Linked DNA regions of Homo sapiens: all the other regions are linked to region 1. Evidence: promoter capture Hi-C in 16 types of primary human blood cells and fetal thymus (Javierre and others, 2016). All regions are on one chromosome and are shown on one strand. Each heading gives the region's core, a stretch centred on a gene start or on the middle of the fragment in contact. The rest is flanking DNA. Distances are from core to core; before and after follow the strand shown.

Evidence for each region. Contacts are between HindIII fragments. The CHiCAGO score rates a contact against its expected background, and 5 or more counts as called.
Region 2: a contact is called between a fragment that was not itself captured here and the fragment with the promoter of RPL6 in region 1, in 1 of 17 cell types (endothelial precursors). The highest score is 5.3, in endothelial precursors.
Region 3: a fragment that was not itself captured here is called in contact with the fragment with the promoter of RPL6 in region 1 in 1 of 17 cell types (endothelial precursors); the score reaches 6.3 in endothelial precursors.

Annotation. Positions count from the first base shown.
Region 1 is chr12:112,406,713-112,411,610 of GRCh38, forward strand. It overlaps RPL6 (ribosomal protein L6), which reads right to left and starts at 2,893. Exons shown (of 7, transcript NM_000970.6): 1 at 2,875-2,893; 2 at 1,708-1,944; 3 at 1,528-1,626; 4 at 35-178. The coding sequence starts at 1,944. RefSeq lists an enhancer at 2,524-2,703. The HindIII fragment of the contact is 30,731 bases long and covers 1-4,898 here.
Region 2 is chr12:111,911,983-111,916,880 of GRCh38, forward strand. No RefSeq gene overlaps it. Among named protein-coding and RNA genes, the nearest start is that of MAPKAPK5-AS1, 71 kb to the left of the region's middle. The HindIII fragment of the contact is 2,198 bases long and covers 1,806-4,003 here.
Region 3 is chr12:111,929,187-111,934,084 of GRCh38, forward strand. It overlaps TMEM116 (transmembrane protein 116), which reads right to left. Exons shown (of 11, transcript NM_001193531.2): 9 at 4,700-4,844; 10 at 3,400-3,473; 11 at 2,112-2,641. The coding sequence ends at 2,435. Among named protein-coding and RNA genes, the nearest start is that of TMEM116, 82 kb to the right of the region's middle. The HindIII fragment of the contact is 2,415 bases long and covers 1,010-3,424 here.

The DNA.
Region 1 (4,898 bases), core at 1,643-4,142:
TGCAGTGAAGCGCCCCAAGCACAGGTACTCTCACCTTGCCCCTGTGGCGTCCAGTGAGGATGATCAGAATGGTCCCGGGGGTAATGCTGGCTCGCAGTTTTCTCACGTGCTGACTGAAGGGTTTTTTGCCGTGGCTCAACAGCTTTCGAGGCACATCTTCAGTAGGATAATATCTAGGCTGTGGAGAGTCCATAGATCCAACTTATTTAAATAAGCCATTCAGATTACTAGAAGCAAGCTATGTCAGCCAAACTTTTGCTACAGCCTTTTTATTTTAAAGTATAATACTGTATTTATATGATTCCATTTTCATTTCTGCTAAGTAGACTTGGAAAAGGTCAATTATGCTTCTGCATCCTGTGTGCAAAAAAGGAGACACCATTTAATGAATGAGATGTGTGCTCAAGCAAAGAAAGCATCAAGCAAGTCACCTTTGCAATCTTGAGCAAAAACTAAACCTCAGAGATTACACGTGTGACATGCCACATTTTGCAGATTAGGGATACATGGCTTGTTTTCCAATTCAAGTAAAGTGTGTCCATATCCTAGCCACTTCATCTGATCCTCACAGCAACAAGTCTTACTCCCACTTCATCCACAAAGGAAAACAAATTGCATAAAGCCAGACACTAGGACTGGCAGATCATTTATTGCAGAAGTTAGACACCATGCAAGGGCCATTAAAGACATGACTACAAATAACTCACAATAACCTATTTCCAACTATACCATATCATTAGTGCAGTCTCACTTTCACCACAAACATGATCACCTAATGGGAAAACGAGTTCACAAAACAACTGTCATCTTCCCTCTCATGCAGTAATCTTCAACTGTGAAACTGTATGGTGTTAACTTATTTGGGAATGTTCCCATAATGAAAATTACAGAGCAAATCCTGAGATTACATTGGGTCTTGTGTGTGGTAAAGGGGGCCAAGAAACACTGCTCTAGTGGGAAATGTTCTATAGAACAGGCTATGTATTATTTCATTTAATCTCCATAAAAACTCTTTGAGGTAAACCCTCATTCCCATCTTATCTTTTTTTGAGATGAAGCCTCCCTCTGTCGCCCAGGCTGGAGTGCAGTAGTGCAATCTCTGCCTCCCGGGTTCAAGCGATTCTTCTGCCTCAGCCTCCAGAGCAGCTGGGACTACAGGCACGCAACCAGCTAATTTGTATATTTTTACTAGAGATGTGGTTTCACCATGTTGGCCAGGCTGGTCTTGAACTCCTGACCTCAGGTGATCTGCTCGCCTCAGCCTCCCAAAGTGCTGGGATTACAGGCATTAGCCACCACACTCAGCCTCATTCCCATATTATATGCAAAGGAACAAAGCACAGACGAGTAATTTAAATTACTTAAGATTAACAGTAAATGTTGAAGCCAAGTTACAAACCCAGAGCCCTTTATTTTCTATCAGAAATTCTCCGGTATGCAGAAACTTACAGTATCTAAGTATTCAAAAACATCTTCACAGTATTCAAGCATAAACAGAAAATCCAATTTACAGTCCCCACATCTTACCATTTTGCGAAGTTTAACCACCCGGGTACCGCCGTTCTTGTCACCACCAACTGGTTTTGTAACAGTTGCGAGAACCTTCTCCTTCTTTTTCTTTTCAACCTACAAGGACACAAATGCATCAACAGTAAGAGAATGCCAATTAAGGTTAAGACATAATGGTCCGTGGTCCTCTTCCCTTACCTTGGATTTAGCGGCTGAGTACTTCCTCTTGTACATGGCCTTTCTGGAATACATGGCAGATCGGGAATACCTGCCAATTCCTCTGACAAGGACAGGGTTGCGGCTGCAATGGGGCTTCCCCTTCTTGGGCTTTTTAGCTTTGAGGTTACCCTTTTTCACCTTGCCACCAGCATCAACCTTCTTGGCTTCGGGTTTCTTCTCTTTAGTATCTGGCTTCTCAACTTTTTCACCCGCCATCTAAAAATATTTTTTTGTAGATAAAAAAAGGCATTTCACCAGTCATCTCTCTAACAAGACAATAATGAACCTGTACATGAATGGGCTGGGCTCCCCAGACTACAATCCCTCCCCCGGTAAGATACAGGCCTTCCTCTCAAACTCTACCCATTCTACTCCAACCTTCACTATGACTCATTTGGGGTTTGTCTCCCCAATACACTATAAACTTTTTTTTTGAGAATTTGAAACTACCTCACACCTATTAGGTTTTTTGCCAAATACTGAGCGGTCAGAAGTCCGTACAACCATTATTTTTTATTACTGTTTTGCGAATTAGAAAACTTAGATGCAGAATGTGTCCACAGGTTAGAAGCACCAAGACCAGAACTTGAAATCCCTTACTTTCAGTACCTTTCGTCTTAACCCTTAAGACCAGTGTCTCTTTTCAAGAAACTCGATTTAGGAATTGCGGACACAAACGGAATCAGCCCAAATTGAGCCAGAGAAAAAGATCGCAAAGACCAAGAGGCGACTTCCGGTCGGGGACGCTGGGAGACGCGAAACCTTTTGGCTTCAGTGCGGAACCCCAACGTGGCTGCGACAGGCTCAGTGTCATCCTCTGGAACCCAGGACCAGGAACACAGTGCACGCGCCGTCTCCCCGCTTCCTCTAACACCCACCAGTCTGCTACGGGTCCCCGAAAGGGCCTCGTTCCCCCAGCCCAAGAGAGTGGCGAAGAACCGGAGGGAGCCACTACGGCATTCTACCTCACCCTCTTTGTGCCCTGCCGCAAACCCAAACAACAAAAATGAAGCGTCTGGAAGGCCTCTCAGTTAGCCTTGGACATGTCCGACCCCTGTAGGTGTCGACTGGATGCCCTCCAGGTTCGGATGGCGAAGGATTGGGAGTCCTGAACTCAAGTCTTGCAGACAGGCCCGCGATTCTTACCTTGCAAGATGGGAAAGAGAATTAAGGTCCCGGCTTCCGGTCTATAAGCAATCATGGGAAGTGCGAGTCTCACTTCCTTCCGGATCTGGGGCATCATGGGGAATGTAGTATTTCCCCGTTAAGAAAAAAGTAGTAAATCCTAGGCCGGGTGCGGTGGCTCACGCCTGTAATCCCAGCCCTTTGGGAGGCCGAGGCAGGAGGATCCTCTGAGGTTGGCAGTTCGAGACCAGCCTGGCCAACATGGTGAAATCCCGTCTCTACTAAAAATACAAAAGGTAGCCGGGCGTGGGTGGTGCGTGTCTGTAATGACAGCCAGTCGAGGCGCGGAGGCAGGAGAATCACTTGAATCTGGAGGTGGAGATTGCAGTGAGCCAAGATCGCGACACTGCGCTCTAGGCAACAGAGCAAGATTCTCAAAAAAGAAAAAAAAAAAAAAAAGGGCCGGACACGGTGGCTCACGCCTGTAATCCCAGCACTCCAAAGATCGTGCCACTGCGTGCCACCGCACTCCAGCCTGGGAAATAGAGCCAGACTCAGTCTCAAAACAATAACAACAACAAAAAAAAGAAAAAAAGAAAAAAAATTAGCCGAGTGTGGTTGTTAGTGCCTGTAGTCCCAGCTATTCGGGAGGCTAAGGCGGGAGGATCACTTGAGTCTTGGAGGTCTGGGCTGCAGTGCAGTGAACTCTAATCTTGTCACTTGAGATTAGGTCAGTGGTCCCCTCTTCCCTTACCTTGGATTTAGCGGCTGACTACTTCCTCTTGTACATGGCCTTTCTCATTCCCGTCCTCCGGCCTGGCCTACAGAATGAGACTCTGTCTTAAAAAAAGTAAAAAAAAATTAAAGTGAGGATAACAATAGTAACTTACTTCATAAGGATGTTGGGAACATTAAATAATATATACAACAGTACTGAGAAGCATATTTGATTATTTGATGGATGGTAAATGCTACATAAGTGTTAGCTCTTTTTTTTTTTTTTTTTTTTTTTTTTTTTTTTTTTTTGAGATGGAGTCTCGCTCTGTCACCCAGGCTGGAGTGTGGTGGCACGATCTTGGCTCACGGCAACCTCTGCCTCCTGGGTTCAAGTGATTCTCCTGCCTCAGCCTCCCAAGTAGCAGGGATTACAGGCGCACACCACCATGCCCAGCTAATTTTTTGTATTTTTAGTAGAGACAGAGTTTCACCATGATGGCCAAGCTGGTTTTGAACTCCTGACCTCAAGTAATCCACCCGCCTCAGCCTCCCAAAGTGCTAGGATTACAGGCGTGAGCCACCGCACCTGGCGAACTGTTAGCTCTTGTTATTGTCACCATCACCACTACAATCATCTGATCATCAACATCCTAGTTGTTGTCAAGTATTCTGCTAAAGTTTATGCATGGGAGATAATAGGCAATATTGCATACAATGTGCCTTGCTTTATTTCATTTAATTCTCCCAACAACCTGTGAATGATACTATTATGAGGAAACTGAGTCTCAAGGACATTAAGTAACTTGCTCACAGCATAGATCTGATTCCAAAGATTGCACTCTTAACCATTAGGCTGCAAGATTAAAGAGATGATTAATGAAGATGCATGAGAGTTTTGCTCATGTTAGAATTAAAAATAAGAATATTTATTATCTTTTACAAAATACACAACACAGTATATGTGATAGTTCTTTACTGCTTCAAAGCCCTTAAGCCAACATGTACACATTTGTAATACCTTCTAGCTTGCGTTTTCCATTTTCCTCCATTCGTTTCTTTCTGGTTGCTAGAGCTTTTCACCTTGATTTTTTCAGATCGAAACCACCTGCTTCATGGCTGTGTCTCTGGGAATCATTTAGCCTTTTTCTGGTTCTGATTCACTGAGGATACAAATACAATGATCAGATGAACACTGCCCTTTTTTTTGAGAATGGGAATGTCAGCAGCTTTATTTGTTTAGCTTCCTCAGCAAAGCACCTCTTAGAAACTTCAACTGCAGAAAATGTACCACAATGAATGAATGAGATGCACAGTTGCTTACGTGGGCC
Region 2 (4,898 bases), core at 1,655-4,154, 490 kb before region 1:
CCAGTCCATAGCCACTGCACAATCCAAAATCTTGTTCAGATACAATATTGTTAATTTTATAAAGCTCATTAAGTAAATTTTGAATGTTCATAAACCCCAAACTCCAGCCAAATAAGGCTGAACCCCTTTAGGATAGACTGTGGCAGGGAAGGATGAGTTTTAATGGAGGCAGGAATGAATGAGCAGGTACATGGAACTTGGGATCTTAAATGTCTGGGTTCAAGAGTCAGAGTTCCCTTAAGCATGAGTGAGAATAGTCTGTTCTGCATGGTGTGTTTGTGCCTCTAGGAAGTATAGCCTTTCTCCTGGTTCCTCTCCCCAGTGTGTTGGGGAATTATGAGGAATGTTTACGTGTTGTCATTGGTAGTCACTTGTGACCCAGCCAGGTGCTGCCCCAAGAGACTCTGGTGTTGACTGGTGACTTCTTGCCATCCTTTATCTGCCTTCTCTGGACCGCTTTTGTCTTCTCTGTGCTGCCTCAGGCCAGTGGAGAACCAGGTCCTTCTTTTACTTACCCAAAGCACCGCCAAGTTCAGGCTCTAGTTTTATCTAGACTTGAGTTAAACAAAGGGAATGACGATATGGGAAAGAAAATACATTTGGATGTTACAGATATGTGTGTTCCTGGAGCCCAGGGGCCAAGCCCCTCCCTGGGGGACTTGGATTGGTGATCTCTCTCCTTGGCCCCAACCTGACATCTTTTCTTGTCCTTTTAGGAATGTCTGATGGAAATTCCTCCTAACCTGGGGTCATACTCCATTTCATTCTCTGGGCTCAGTGAGAGGGAAAATTTTTTTTTTAAGTAATTTACTGAAAACCCAGATCACACCATCATAAATTCAGATAGGTGCAATTCTGCCCACAATGAAGGCAAAGTGTTACACTAATTTGAAAACAGTTTAGCCTCTTATTCCCCCAAACTTCATTCTTGAATTTTGTCATTTTTTGTGGGCAAGCTGTGGGAAAGGGGCACAAAAGTATCACTGAAGTATTTTTTCAAAAAAGAAAAAAGGCAGTCTTCCTCTACTAATGAGAATGCAAAATGTTGAACAACTGTAAAATGTTTTCACCCTGCTTTTAGACATAAAGCTTTAAAAAACTGTGAGGTCTTTTATCACTTCCCCATTGTATATGTAATATGGCTCCAGATAATTACTCTGCCACGGGGAGAAAATCTTCCATAACTCTCCCCTATATATATGTATACTCCACCACCTTATCTTGTTATGTCATGGTGGTGGGAGTATTTATACCACAGAAACAGGCAAATGATACAAATCTGGGCTTCAGGCTAGGCGTGGTGGCACACCCCTGTAATCCCAGTATTTTGGGAGGCTGAGGGGCAGATCGCTTGAATCCAGGAGTTCAAGCTCAGCTTCGATAACATGGTAAAATATAATATAAAAATATAAAAATATAAAAATTACCCAGGCATGGTGGCTTGCGCCTGTAGTCTCAGCTACTCGGGAAGCTGAGGTGGGAGAATCAGTGAGCCCAGGCCAAGTCAAGGCTATAGTGAGCTGTGATGGTGCCACTGCACTCCAGCCTGGGTTACAGAGTGTGACCCTGTCTCAAAAAAAAAAAAAAAAAAAAAAAAAGACCCAACAAACTAATCTGACCTCAGTTCATTTGTTTATTTTCCTATTGACTTCATTCTTTAAATTTAAACATTTACTTTTAAGAAATATTTATATGCTAGGAACTAAATGGTTAAAGATAAAAAACACAGATTCTGGATGTAGAGAAATTAGAACCCACATGCACTGCTGGTGTGAATGTAAAATGGTGCAGCCACTTTGAATCAAAGCTTGGTAGTTTCTTAAAATGCTAAATAAATGCAGAGTTATCCTATGACCTAGCACTTCCACTCATATATGCATAATATACCCAAGAAATACAAAAACATATCCATACAAAAACTTGTACATGAGTATTTATAGCATGTTACTTATACATTAAATGAAAACAATCCAAATGTCTATCATTAACTAAAATGTAGTATATCCATATAATGGACCACTATTCAGCAATAAAAAAGGAATGAGCTGAGCTGGGCACAATCGCTCACGCCTGTAATCCCAGCATTTTGATAGGTCAAGGTGGGAGAACTGCTTGAAGCCAGGAGTTCCAGACCAGCCTGGGCAACATAGTGATACTCTGTCTCTAAAAAAAAATTTAAACTTAACAGTTTGTGGTGGCATGCACCTGTGGTCCCAGCTACTCAGGAGGCTGAGGCAGGAGAATCTCCATTTTTTTTTTTTTTTTTTGAGATGGAGTCTTGCTCTGTCGCCTAGGCTGGATGGAGTGCAATGACAAGATCTCAGCTCATTGCAACCTCTGCCTCCCAGGTTCAAGGGATTCTCCTGCCTCAGCCTCCCAAATAGCTGGGATTACAGATGTGCACCACCACGCCCAGCTAATTTTTGTATTTTTAGTAGAGACGGGGTTTCACCATGTTGGCCAGGCTGGTCTGGAACTCCTGAGGTCAAGTGATCCACCTGCCTTGGCCTCCCAAAGTGCTGGGATTACAGGCATGAGCCACTGTGCCCGACCAGGAGAATCTCTTGAGCCCAGGAGTTTGAGGCTGCAGTGAGCCATGACTGCACCACTGCACTCCAGCCTGGGCGACAGAGTGAAACCCCAACAATTTTTTTTTTTTTTTTTGAGACAGTCTTGCTCTGTCACCCAGGCTGGAGTGCAGTGGTATGATCTCAGCTCACTGCAAGCTCCGCCTCCCGGGTTCACAACATTCTCCTGCCTCAGCCTCCCTGGTAGCTGGGACTACAGGTGCCCGCCACCACGTCTGGCTAATTTTGTTTTTGTATTTTTAGTAGAGATGGGGTTTCACCGTGTTAGCCAGGATGGTCTCGATCTCCTGACCTTGTGATCTGCCTGCCTTGGCCTCCCAAAGTGGTAGAATTACAGGCGTGAGCCACCACGCCCGGCCAACCCTAACTCTTAAAAAAAAAAAAAAAAAGGAATGAAATACTAACACCTGCTACAATGTGGATGAACTTTAAGAATATCATGCTAAATTGGCCAGGCACGGTGGCTCATGCCTGTAATCCCAGCACTTTGGGAGGCTGAGGTGGGCAGACCATGAGGTCAGGAGATCGAGACCATCCTGGCTAACATGACGAAACCCCGTCTCTACTAAAAATACAAAAAATTAGCTGGGTGTGGTGGCAGGCGCCTGTAGTCCCAGCTACTCCTGAGGCTGAGGCAGGAGAATGGTGTGAACTCGGGAGGCGGGGCTTGCAGTGAGCTGAGATAGCGCCACTGCACTCCAGCCTGGGTGACAGAGCGAGACTCCGTCTCAAAAAAAAAAAAAAAGATTATGCTAAATTTAAAAAGTGCAAAAACTCTATTTAAGGGTTTCCTGTGTTCCATTGATCTATGTGTGTATCTCATCAGCAATACCGCATACTATTGAAACAGAAAAGAGTGATTTCTCCAAGTTATTATTTTCCAAAATTGTTTTAGCTAGTCTTGTTCCTTTGTCTTTTAGAAAATTTATATTGTAAAATATAAATTTTAAAATTTTCTTGTCTGTATCTACAAAGAATCTTGTTCGGATTGTGATATGAATTGGGTTAAGTCTATGTATCAGTTTGAGGAGAACTGGTATCTTTATTACGTTGTGTCTTCCAATTTGTAAACATAGCAAATCTCTATTTATTTACATCTTTGATTTCTTTCATCAGTGTCTTGTGGTTTTCATTTAATAGGTCCTGTACATATTTTGTTAAATTTACATCTAAATATTTCATTTTTTGAGTGATTTTAAATTGTATTTTTATTTTGATTAAATTGTTCATTGCTAGTATACAGAAATATAATTGATTTTTATATGTTGCTACTGTATCCTGCAAGGGGGAAGATTCAGTCTTTCACCATTAAGTAAAACATTAACTATAGGCTTTTTGTAGATGTTCTTATTACATTGAGGTAGTTTTCACTCTCTACCTAGTTTTCTGGGAGTTTTTATCATGAATGGATGTAAAGCTTAGCCAAATGCTTTTTTCTGCACCAATTGATATGATCATGGGATTTTTCTTATTTAGCCTGCTAACATGGTGAATTCAATGTTTGATTTTCAAACATAAACCAATCCTGCATCCCTGGAAAAAACAAAACTTGGTCATGGTGTATAATTCTTTTTTTCACATTGCTGAATTTTATTTGCTAATATTTGGTTAAATTTTTTTTGCATCTATATTCATGAAGGATATTGGTCTGTAGTTTTCTTTTTTTGTACTGTCTTTCTCTGGTTTTGGTATCAGGGTGATGCTGGCCTCATAAAATGAATCGGATAGGGTTCCCTTTCCTTCTCTTTTATTTTTCTAGAAGAGATTGTGTAGAATTAGTGTTAATTTATTTTTAAAGGTTTGTTATAATTCTCCAGTGAAACCATCTGGGCCTGATTATTTTTCTTGGGAGATGTGAAGTTATAAATTCAATTTTCTTTTTTCTTTCTTTTTTTTTTGAGATGGAGTTTTCCCAGGCTGGAGTGCAATGGCATGATGTCGGCTCACCGCAACCTCCACCTCCTGGGTTCAAGCGATTCTCCTGCCTCAGCCTCCCAAGTAGCTGGGATTACAGGCACGTGCCACCATGCCTGGCTAATTTTGTATTTTTAGTAGAGACAGGGTTTCTCCATGTTGGTCAGGCTGGTCTCAAACTCCCAACCTCAGGTGATCCGCCCGCCTCAGCCTCCCAAAGTGCTGGGATCACAGGCATGAGCTACCGTGCCTGGCGAAATTCAATTTTCTTAATAGCTATAAAGATATTCAACTTATCTAGTTCACATTGGGTGAGATGTAGTAGTTTGTGCTTTTTGAGAAATTGGTCCATTTATCTAAGGTATCAAATGTACGTCTGTAAAGCTGTTTGTAGTG
Region 3 (4,898 bases), core at 967-3,466, 480 kb before region 1:
GTGGTGGCTTACGCCTGTAATCCCAGCACTTTGGGAGGCCGAGGTGGGTGGATCACCTGAGGTCAGGAGTTCAAGACCAGTCTGACCAACATGGTGAAACCTCGTCTCCACTAAAAATACAAAAATTAGCTGAGCATGCTGGCATGTGCCTGTAATCTCAGCTACGCGGGAGGCTGAGGCAGGAGAATCGCTTGAACCTGGGAGGTAGAGGTTGCAGTGAGCCGAGATCATGACATTACACTCCAGCCTGGGCAACAAGAGTGAAACTCTGTATCAAAAAGAAAGAAGAGGAAAGAAAGAAAGAAAGAAGGAAGGAAGGAAGGAAGGAAGGAAGGAAGGAAGGAAGGAAGGAAGGAAGGAAGGAAGGAAGGAAAGAAAGAAAAGAAAGGAAAGAAAGGAAAGAAAGAAAGGAAAGAAAGGAAAGAAAGAAAGGAAAGAAAGGAAAGAAAGAAGGAAGGAAGGAAGGAAGGAAGGAAGGAAGGAAAGAAAGAGAAAGAAAGAAATGGACTTCTGGTGGGGCGCAGTGGCTCATGCCTGTAATCCCAGCACTTTGGGAGGCCAAGGCGGGTGGATCACCTGAGGTCAGGAGTTCGAGACTAGCCTGACCAACATGATAAAACCCCGTCTCTACTGAAAAACTACACAAATTAGCCAGGTGTGGTGGTGGGCTCCTGTAATCCCAGCTACTTGGGAGGCTGAGGCAGGAGAATCGCTTGAACCCGGGACGGGGAGGTTGCAGTGAGCCGAGATCATGCCAACACACTCTTCCCTGGGCGACAGAGCAAGACTGTCTCAAAAAAAAAAAAAAAAGAACTGGACTTCTTGGTTCTGGTGTCCCTCAGGGACTATGGATATAGGAACTCTTTCTTGCTTCCATCTATTTTTCTATATGCTGACTGCTTATTAGTTTTTAAATTAAAAGAAGTTAACGCAGCTTTCTAGGTGAGGCAGTCTTTTTTTGTTCTGTGCTATCATGAAATCAGGTCTCAGGATTTTGGGGACAATGAGAAGCTTCAATATATGATCTTGACAGAATAAGGCCAGGTTACCCTCCATAACTTCCATGAAGCTCATGGTCTAAAACCGAAAGAGCTATCATTGAGCTCCCTGACATTTCTATAGAGAGCTCTTTTGGAAAAATCTCTGTAACTTACTTTTCAGAACATCCTGTCTAATCTTCCGTTATAATCCTCTCAATCAATTTCTCTAATCTTAAAGATTTTGCCTTGGACATACCAAGATAATGTATCAAGTGAGAATAAGGCTGCTTTTGTGATCATCAGATTATTAGGTCTAGATGTTTTGATTAATTATCATTCCAGTCACCTTGTCCATTTGGCTTTCCCTTTGTTTTGGCATCATAGTATATGATGCTCTGGCCTCAGATTGGCCTTGTTCATAACTTAGCTGGAGAGACCAAATATCACTGTTACATGATTCAAGAGGAATTAACAGATTAGATAGATATTCCCACCCCTGAATGAAGCTCTGCAGTCCGAGAATCTTTTCTTTCCCAAAAGATTTAAATTTTACTTATAAGTCACTAATTTGCTTGTTCACTCATTTATCCTATAAACATATATTTAACACTTACTATTAGGCTGAACTATGTGAAATTGATGACATTAGACCATTTTCACCTATAAAAATGGCAAGTTGTTCATACTGTTCAATCTAACTTTATACTTTGATAAATGAACACAATGAAACCAACCTTGTACTTCTGCTTGTAAATGCAAGTTAACAGTTATTGATTACTAGAGGTTTTTTTTAGTCTCTATTTCTCTTAAATCTTATTGTCCCTGTGACTTCAAAAGATTAGTCTTAGTATTCTAGAGTGGGGTGATCCCTATTGTTCAAGTCCTAGAACAGAACTGAACATATGAGACTAAGATGTGGTGTGTCTAAAGGTCCCACTGTCACTTTTTTGATAGTAGTTCTCCTTGTTTCCTATGAGTTTCCAAAACTCTTCATAGAATGGAAACCCAGGATTTTCTGTGTTCAACTTTAGAGACAGTAATAGCAATGGCAAGACCTGAGCAAGTTGTTGCATGCCCCCTGCCCCCACTTCCCCTGCAACCATGGAGTAGACAGCTTTGAAATGACACATATAAATAATAATCTAGAATTTATTTTTTCTAGAAGAGACTTAGACAAATCCAATATCCATCAAGGTAACACGAGTCTATCTCTGAGATGGAAAGTGTCTTCCTCTCCCTGAATAGAGACTTTAAGGATCACTAGTGAATCTGGGAATAACTGGAGAGATACTCCCAATTCATCTAGAATGACTACTAACAATGGCACTATATTTCCTTTGAGTTCTGCAGTTTAGGGCATAGTTAGAAAAGATTTAAGATGTCCTTTCCCAACATTCTTTCCAATCCATTAGCGTAGAATAACTCCAGTTCCTGGATGTTCCAGTATTGTAGTTTCAAAAAATGGTAGAAGTACTGGCAGGAAAAGTCAGGGTGGATTCCAGTGAATTTAAGCCCCTGCTATAGAATCTCTTCTGTGAGCATAATAATGGTGTCTGGGTATCTGCATCACGCCGAGCCTCCTGCTTTAGTTGGTGGAATTTGTGCTGCGTCCAGCCATATACTCCACAGTTGAGTAGACCCTGAGATGTTGCCGTTAGAGCCTGGAGGAGATGAAGGGGTGATGCAGCCCATGCTTCAGGTTTTCAGGGATCCAGGGAATAATTCTCACTCCCCTTATTCATAAAGCATTGTTATATTTTCTCTATCTCAAACATGAAGATCTGACATCAGTTTTTTATATTTTTCTAGTTCATCCTGAACTCACTGTCTACACTACACTGTTACGGATGACTGAGAGTTGGTCATACTTCTTAGTATATACATAGGGACAATGAAATAGCTTCAGTGCCCCCCCTTATTGCCTCATTTTCCAGGGTACCCTTGAGAAAACTGTCTCATCGGAATAGTCAGATAGCCCAAAAATCTTCTTAAATCCAATAAAGAAAAAAAAGAGAGATGATCATTCCATCCCCTCCTCACCATTCACCAAGAATAGCTCATTTATCCCATTCAGTTTACTCTGGATGGGAGAGAACCATGTCACTATCAATGTTTCATAAGAACATACCTGGCAGATCTTGTTTATTTTTGCTGCCCATTCCTTAAAAACACATCAGTAAAATGAAGTTGACCAGAGATATATACGCTCTGGAATGCATGGAGGTACTTTTACAACATTATCTACCTCGACTTTGAGAAAATTTTCACATTCTTCATAACTGAGTGTAAATAATACATTTTCTCTTTTGCAATGTAGAAGTACCCGGAGGGAAAAAATCATCCTTACCGAGTAAAGGTAGTATAAGAAAATAGGATAAGCGGGTGTAAGAACAGAGATACTGAATGTTGAAGGTGTTACCTGGAGAACATAAAGGGCCATGTGAAGCTTGGTGTCCTGTGGCTTAGTCAGCTTTATGATCATTAGAATGACAGCTGTGAATACACAAAGTGTAAACCTTCTTGTCAGCCCTGACTGTCTGAAGTATCAGGTTCCTCCACACACGTCTGAGCATTATCAGAATGGAAACAATAGGCATAATAAAATCCATCAGTGACGTTAACTTGTTATGCAAACCAATGAGTCTTAGGCCTCCAACTTCTAGTCTTTACTGATGAAACTTTGTAGATTATTAGTGTAGTAATGGTAGCAGGATATACTACAGGAAGGTAATAATTTATACTTCCTATCAATTCAGATTTTCCCAAGCTCTTTCATAAAAATTATCCAATCTGGGCGGGCGCAGTGGCTCATGCCTACAATCCCAGCACTTTGGGAGGCCAAGGTGGGCAGATCACCTGAGGTCAGGAGGTTGAGACCAGCCTGGCCAACATGGCGAAACCCTGTCTCTATTAAAAATACAAAAATTAGCTGGGCATGGTGGCATGCGCCTGTAATCCCAGCTACTCGGGAGGCTGAGGCAGGAGAATTGCTTGAACCTGGGAGGCAGAGGTTGTAGTGAGCTGAGATTGCACCACTGCACTCCAGCCTGGGCAACAGAGTGAGACTCTGTCTCAAAAAAAAAAAAAAAAATTATCTAACCTGATCCTCACTATAACCTTATGTAGTAGGAAGGGCAGGTGTTAATATCTCCAAGTCTGTCACAATGTTTTCTCCTCTTATATCATGGTGCATCTCATGTCTAATTATCTCAATTTCTAAAACATAAGAAGCAAAAGGAGTTAAGGAGGGTAGTAAAAACTGGAAATATGGGTAGGGCCCATACAAATTTTATAAACTGAATAGGAATTTGCAGCCATCCTTCTTTTTTTTTTTTTTTTTGAGATGGAGTCTCGCCCTGTCACCCAGGCTGGAGTGCAGTGGTGCAATCTTGGCTCACTGCAAGCTCCACCTCCCAGGTTCACACCATTCTCCTGCCTCAGCCTCCCAAGTAGCTGGGACTATAGGCGCCTACCACCACGCCCGGCTAATTTTTTTTTTTTTTGTATTTTTAGTAGAGACGGGGTTTCACTGTGTTAGCCAGGATGGTCTCGATCTCCTGACCTCGTGATCCACCTGCCTCAGCCTCCCAAAGTGCTGGGATTACAGGTGTGAGCCACTGTGCCCGACCTCAGCCATCCTTCTTAGTGAGACCACTTTGCTTGATCAGAACCTAATAACTGCCCTCTTCACTGCCCATCTCTTCTTGTTAAGTACCTACCTGGGCCCCAGCAGCAAAAGAAGGCCACTGGGTAGAAGCGCACCCGTTGGTCCACAATGTGAATCACTGCCCACTGTTCACTCCCCAGAAAGCCAGTTGACTTCACAAACTTCTTATACAATGTCTGGGCTCGGATAAGTAAGACCTAAATATGAGTACAGCAGTGAGCAGTTTGCTTAAAGCTTAGTAAAATGCCCCA